Linked DNA regions of Homo sapiens: region 1 is linked to region 2. The links are contacts of gene promoters, found by promoter capture Hi-C in blood cells and fetal thymus (Javierre and others, 2016). All regions are on one chromosome and are shown on one strand. Each heading gives the region's core, a stretch centred on a gene start or on the middle of the fragment in contact. The rest is flanking DNA. Distances are from core to core; before and after follow the strand shown.

Evidence for each region. The method cuts DNA at HindIII sites, captures the fragments that hold promoters and counts their contacts. A CHiCAGO score of 5 or more calls a contact.
Region 1: a contact is called between a fragment that was not itself captured here and the fragment with the promoter of PLCH2 in region 2, in 1 of 17 cell types (endothelial precursors). The highest score is 5.6, in endothelial precursors.

What each region holds. Positions count from the first base shown.
Region 1 is chr1:3,420,662-3,424,111 of GRCh38, forward strand. The region is part of intron 12 of PRDM16 (PR/SET domain 16); the gene reads left to right. Among named protein-coding and RNA genes, the nearest start is that of ARHGEF16, 32 kb to the right of the region's middle. RefSeq lists an enhancer at 3-503. The HindIII fragment of the contact is 1,664 bases long and covers 1,051-2,714 here.
Region 2 is chr1:2,474,550-2,477,921 of GRCh38, forward strand. It overlaps PLCH2 (phospholipase C eta 2), which reads left to right and starts at 1,740. Exons shown (of 22, transcript NM_014638.4): 1 at 1,740-2,163. The coding sequence starts at 2,040. The HindIII fragment of the contact is 30,181 bases long and covers 1-3,372 here.

The sequences.
Region 1 (3,450 bases), core at 633-3,132, 950 kb after region 2:
AGGTAACTTGGCCCCTAGCTTCTCCTGGCCTAGAGGTCTTTGAGTGAAGCGGGAAGGTGAGATTGAGTTAATGGCAGTCTTATTTCTTAAAAAAAAAGTTAAGCATATAGGCTTTGCGGGATTTGGGTTGGAGAAGCATGAAAATTGAACTGGGAGTGGGGAGAGGGGCTGCTCCTTGGTCTTCGTCCTGACAGCCGGCCCGGGGGTCTCTCTGGGAGGCTGCCCAGTGGAGCCTGGAGTCACAGCCTGGATGCGAGCAGGGCTGCCCGGGACTCCTGCTGGGACCGAGATTCCTGCCTCAGGGCTGCTGACTCCCTAGTCTGCCGTGTGCTTCCATCATCTCCCCAGGCTCCATCCTGCCTTCTGTGTGAAGCTGGAGCGTGCAAGGGAGGCACAGTTGTGCTTCCATCGGGGGCTGCACGCGGCCCGTGCATGTCCTTTCTTTTTTAGTTGTATTTTTACGGCTGGGTTTCAAAATCTCTTCTTTCTTCCTCTTCCCTCACTTTTACAGTCACCAAAAGCAGATCCCCCTGTAGTGGCTGCAGGAGACCTCACTGGATCCTAGGAAGGATGCCGCTGCCCAGTGCTCAGGGGCTCGGGGGCCCTGGCCACCCCCCCTGACCTGCCCATACTCTGTTGTTCCCCTGCCAATGGCTTCTCTGGGAGTGCAGCAGGCACGGTCACAGCAAGGTCCTCTCAAGGCCCTCCGCATTGCACCAGGGCCAGGCTACCCTGCACGTTCTCCTTCCTTTTGGAGCTCACGGGCGTGTTATTTTACGCAGTGAGACCATCAATTTCACTGGCCGCTTGTCAGCTTATTTACAACGCAGACCCCAGCTGCTCGGAGAACTCTGCTCCCTCGCAGCCCTGGGCTCACGGCTCCCCTAAATTTCAAATGGACTTCTCTGTCTGGGCCATTTATTTAGATTAGAAGCAAGAGAGGGCCACGTTCAGGGCTCTCTGCAACCAAATTGAACGCACAGCCCTGTTCGTGGCTCTCCCCGGCCCCAGAGCTTCACACAAGGGACTTGCTCTCCAGTTTTATGAACAAGCTTCTTTTCCAATCCCATTTCTTACCTCGGATCCACAATTGCTAGGGTTTATGCAAGAGCCATTAGGTGGACTTTCTGCAAAAGTCTCTGCATTTCCAAAGAAACCAGGAACTGAATGAGCCGTGTTTGAGCACACATGCAGACAGACAGGCAGACACACAGGCAGGCGGACAGACAGGAAGATAGGCAGGCAAACAGACAGGAAGACAGACAGGCAGGCAGACAGACAGGCAGGCGGACAGACAGGAAGACAGACAGGCAGGCGGACAGACAGGCAGACAGACAGACAGGCAAACAGGCAGGAAGGCAGACAGACAGGTAGATGGACAGATGGATGGACAGACAGGCAGACAGACAGGCAGGGCAGACAAGCAGGAAGGAAGATAGGCAGGTGGACAGACAGATGGACAGACAGGCAGGCAGACAGGCAGACAGACAGGCAGGGCAGACAGGCAGGAAGGCAGATAGATAGATAGGTAGGCAGACAGACAGATGGACAGACAGGCAGACAGACAGGCAGGGCAGACAGGCAAGAAGGCAGACAGACAGGCAGGTGGACAGACAGATGGACAGACAGGCAGGCAGACAGACAGGCAGACAGACAAGCAGATGGACAGGCAGGAAGGCAGATAGACAGACTGGCAAGCAGGCAGACTGGCAGGCAGACAGACAGTCAGGCAGGCAGACAGATTGGGCTGCCTCAACATGCCAGAGGGGCACATGGCCCCAGCTGGGTGGGAAGCCTCTGGCTGGGCAGAGCCTGAATGCTCAGACTGGCAGGTGCTTTGCATCCGGGCTGGAGACGCAGAGTCCAGTGTGTCCTTTCTCAGCAGTCAGTCAGCCTCAAAAGCATGGCGGTCCCAGGGCCAGGCACCACCATTCCAGTCTAAGGATGTGTCAGGGTGGGGGATGTGAGAAAATGCATTGGAGGGTGTAAAATCCCTCCTTTCTGGGAGATTGTGTGGGACACGTCGGGTAGGGGGGCACCCAAGCATCTCCAACCCTGCTGCCGAAAGGGCTCCATCCTCGGCCTTATTCTTGTGTGAGTTCACAGGCCGAGTCAAACAAAACTGCAGCGCCGCCCAGGGCAGGCTTTGTGGATGGCCAGTCCAAGCCAGGGCGCTGCCTGTCACTGGGCTGTGGGAGGAGACGCTGGGACCCGGGTGCCCGGAGGCAGCTCAGCTGACCCGGGCAGGAGCAGGGGCTCCCAGAGAAGAAGCCCACAGGCCAGGCCCCTGGGATCAGGAGCAGAGAAGGCTGAGGGTCACTTCGGGGAGCTCAGGGACTTCGATCACCAATGCTTCTTTTCCTGTCTACTGTTGAAGAGGCCAGAGTGAGCCTGGCCTCCGGCAAAGGTTGGAAGGTTCAGGAATTGAGTGGATGAAGCCTTAGGGCAGCACCAGGGAAGTTTGCTGGGACGAAGTGGGATGGGGATATGCCTCGGCCAGGCGTGGGAGAGGAGTGCCCTTCTCCCAGGACTGCCTCCCGTTCTCTAGGGGACCCATTTTCAGACTTGCTAGGTTTTACCAGGCAGCCTGGGGAGTTGGGGGAGACTCGCAGGCTCTGAGATTCCAAGGACAGTTTCTCACGGCCGCAGCCCCTGCACGTGGGGAATGCTGAGCTCCTGGGCCCGGCAGCAGCACCCGGAAGGTGTGGGACTGAAGCTTCCTGCCTTGGGGAGGCCCCTGCGGGTGTGTTGATGGCAGGTCAGACTCCCTCGCCAGGCTTTTGTGATAGCAAACACCAGCCCAGGCCCCTCCTGTACAGGGCAGCACCGTGCCGAGAAGGCCGAGCCACACAGCCCCTCCCGGTCTGGGAGGCCAGGACTCCCGAGTGTCACCAGGCACGTCCCCATCCATGTGACAAGGGCATGTGACCAGTATGCTGCTCTGGAGCGGGCCACCGGCACCGGTCGGGGCGGGGTGGGGCCTCTCGGAGTCCTGTCCTCTGTGGGAACGAAGGCCACTGTGCTTAGAACAGCCACACCCACTCCGGGTGAACAAACCCTGCCCCATCCTGGTGCCTCCACAGAGGCTCCCACAGAGGCCCTGGCCTGGTCTCCAGCTGCTACCAGGCCCCCCCGGCCAGGATCCTGCTGCAGTGGGTAGACTTTCTGTGTGCTGTGCCATGGGCATCATGGAGCTTGCTTTGTTTTCAAAATATGAAAACGCATGATCATATAAACAGAATGTTCAAGTGCGTGTGTGCCTGTGGGATCAGATGAGCACCGCTGCGGGCGTTCTGATGACCAAGAGCACACACAAGTGTGCACACACAGGCATGGCACACACGCACATGCCAAGCACCCACGTGCAACTGAAAACCATGCAGTCAGGGTTCCCTTCACCGTCGCCCAGCCCAGCCGGGTGCCTCTCAGTAAGCCAGTCCCAGCCCCCCG
Region 2 (3,372 bases), core at 490-2,989:
GCAGATGGCGGCCTCCAAGCCCTAACCCCAGCTGATGGGGGATCAGCTAGTGGCTGAGAGCTCAAGGGAGGGAGGGAGGGAGCAGAGGCCCAGCCTTGGGGAGCTTCAAGGAGGGATGGGTGAGAGACGGGAGCACCCCCAGCTGGGGCCAGGCCCAGGGTGAGGGAACAGCAGGTGTGTCCCAGGCCAGGAGGCCTCTGAGGTGCAGGAAGGAGAACTGGACCCCCTGGGTCAGAGTGGAAGCCCGCAGCAGCCCAGTATGAGGTGGGCAGGGGCCCTGGGCCAGGGCTATGGCCGTCTGGTCTGTCTCCAGGCCCTCAGGCCACCTCCTGGCCCCTGCGCTGCCCCTTACACGGTGGCCTTCCCCGAGGCCCTGTCTTCCTGAGGACGCCCGGGACTCCAGCCCCTCTCCTCTCCCTGCAGCTCATGGCTCCCTAATCTAATTCCACGGCAGAGCCCAGAAACGCCTGCTGACCTGCTTCCGCCGAGAGCAGCAGAGCCTGTGACGGGGCCCCTGGTGGGGGCCTGGGTTGGCTCTGTGCTGACTGCATCTGATCTGGCTGGGTGTGGCCCTGGTTGTCAGTGGTCAGCTGGAGACGCATGGCCATCTCCTCAGGGACTGCCACCTCCCACGCCTGACCTTGGCCCCGGGGCTCTGCCAGGATGCCCAGCCCTGGCACCTCCCTGTCCTGGGCTCTGCAGGCCAAACTCCTCCCCTGGTATGGGGGGAGGCGAGCAGCTGCCCGGAACCTTCCAGTCCTTGTTGCTGGAGCCAGTAGAGCCTGGGCAGTGGGTGGGAAGAAGGGCGGGGTTCTCCCCAGTGTGGTCACGAAGCATGGGCATGGCCAGGACACAGGTGGCTGGTGTTCAGCCGGGGTCTGCCCACCTCCCATTCCCACAGCTGCCCCTGGTGTCCCGGCCTGGACTTGGGGATGGGAGAGCCTGTGCTGTCCTGTAGTGCGGGGCCAGTACACAGGGTGGGCTGTGTGGTCCTGGTGGCAGTGGGACCTGGAGTCCTTTCCTCAGTGGGAGCTGAGACGGTGGGGTGGGTCCTCCTTGGGCGAGGCCCCTGTCCAGGTCAGATGGCTGTCATCCCTGCAGGGCAGAATGTGGGGACAAACGTGCCCTGGGCATGGGGCCACCTCCTCCGCCACAGCTCGGTGACCGTGGAGAAAGGTCAGGCTGGGGCTGCAGCTGCATGAGGGAGACATGGAGAGCCCAACCCAGGCTCAGGGACCCACATCCTGGGCCTGGGCTGGGAGTTGTCGCTGTAAGGGATCCGGCTCGGCTCCCCTCTCCAGCCACAGGGGCTGGGCGCTGCGGGGATGAGGTGAGCTTCTGCCCCTGCTCTGGGCCACCTGCCTCTGGACTTTGGGGATCCACTCAGAGGTCCTCATAAGTAGGGATGCGGGGTGAGGGCAGGGACCACTCCAGGCCCAGCCTCGGCATCTGTGGTGGGCGCACAGCGGGGAGGCCCACCCCACACAGGGTCCTCGGAGGACAGTACCCTGCAGGCCTTCCGGTTGCGTTCTCTGGGTCCCAGGAGGGCCCTCCCGTTGGTCCTGCTCTTGTCCCGCAGCCCTGACCTGGGTCTGGTGGCCTGGGGCCTTGGGAAACTCTGTTGCCTCCCCAGTGCCCTCCCATCCCCAGCTGGGAGTTCCCTCGGCCTAAATCCTCCACCAGCTGGGCTGGAGCTGGGATTAGCACAGGGATTGGGCCTGGGGCTGGGCGGGGCTGAGGTCCTTTGCTCCCCCAGCCTTGGGAGGCGGCTGCGTCAGGGATTCCTTGGTGGCCCTGGAGGGTGGATAGGCTGGCCTGGGGGCCATCAGGACAGCAGGTGACGGTCAGGCCAATGCCAGCCGGGCCTGGGCACAGCCCTGTGGGGGCTTCGGAGGGCCCTGAGGAGGAGGAGGAAGAGGCAGAGGAGAGAAGGCCCCACGGAGGTCCTGTCGCCAGCGCTGCCACTGCCTGACCTCCGCTGCCCGAAGGCCGGTGGGCCTCTGTGGCCTCCGTGAAGCAGGCCCGGCTGTCGTCAGGCCATGTCTGGTCCATGGCCCTCCCCCGACAGCCGGACCAAGGGAACGGTGGCCTGGCTGGCGGAGGTACTCCTCTGGGTTGGAGGGAGTGTGGTGCTGTCTTCAGAGTGGCAGCTCGGCCCCCTGGGTAAGAAGGGGCAGGCGAGTGGCCTGGGCTGAGTGCTGGCCCTGGCCAGGTGACTGGTGGGTGGGGGCTGTTCCTGGAGGTGGGGGAAGCCTGGGCCTCCATCCCATCCTGCACTCGCCTCCCCTGTCCCCCGGGTGCTCTAGGGATCATGTGGGTCCAGCAGCGTCGGCTGGCCCTGCCCCTCAGCCGCTCAGAGGCGTGCTCAGCACACCTCGGTCTCCCAGGCACCTGCAGGGCCTGGGGGCTGAACCCAAGGGGGCGAGGGGGGATCTCAGGTGGCTCCAATGCTCTCATTGAAGGGGTGCCTTGTGCTCTGGGGGTCAGTGGTGCTTGCAGCCCAGGCGGCTGGGCTGGCATCCTGGTGCCGGACATGAGGGCCTTTGCCGTTAGGAGACTCTGCAGAGGAGACTGGCTGGGTATGGCTGGGAGGGTGGAGTGTGTGTCTTGTGGTGGCCTGTGGAGGGCCCCGGTCCGGGCTGGCCTGCCAGCTCTCTGTTCCAGCGGCAGACAGGGTCCTGTCCAGGCTGCCCTGTTGCAGGCCTCTGCCCGCCCCCTGCCCCTGTGTCCTGCCTCACCCCTCTCCTAAATCCCTGCAGCCATACCTGCGTCTTCACCTCCCATGTGCCCCGGAGAGCCCAGCCCCCCATGCCATGGCTTCCATCCCTTCAATTCCCCTCTGCTCGTGATCACGTAGTAGCTTCCCCAAGAAGGCCCGGCCAGTACTGCCCTTGGTCCTCTACAACGCCCCCGCCAGGGTCCCTCAGCGTGCAGACCTGGGGTGGGGATTAACGTCTCTGTGCTTTAGCAGATGGTACCTCTGGGACCCGGGCTTTCTGTGAGCAGGTGTGCAGGAACCGAGGGGGTGAGACCAGTCTGTTCCTGGGCTGGGACAGCTGACTCTGGCCTGGACTCCCTGGACCCTGCAGCCCCCTCTCCTGGGACAAGCTACAGCAGGAGGCTGAATGGAGAGAGGAGGGGAGAGAAGGAGCGAGGCAGGCAGCCTGGGGGAGGGGAGGGGAGGGGTTGTGAAGCTCGGATCCGGCACCACAGCCTCCCAAGTCCATACTGCAGTGCAGGGCGTGCGACGCAGACATTCATGGCACCATTCGTGGCGCTTGTTGCACATGAGGGGTGGGGGCTTTCCTGGAGATGCCCCAGGCAGGGGCACAGGCACTCAGGAATTCGACCGCTCCCAGGAGCCACCTGTGG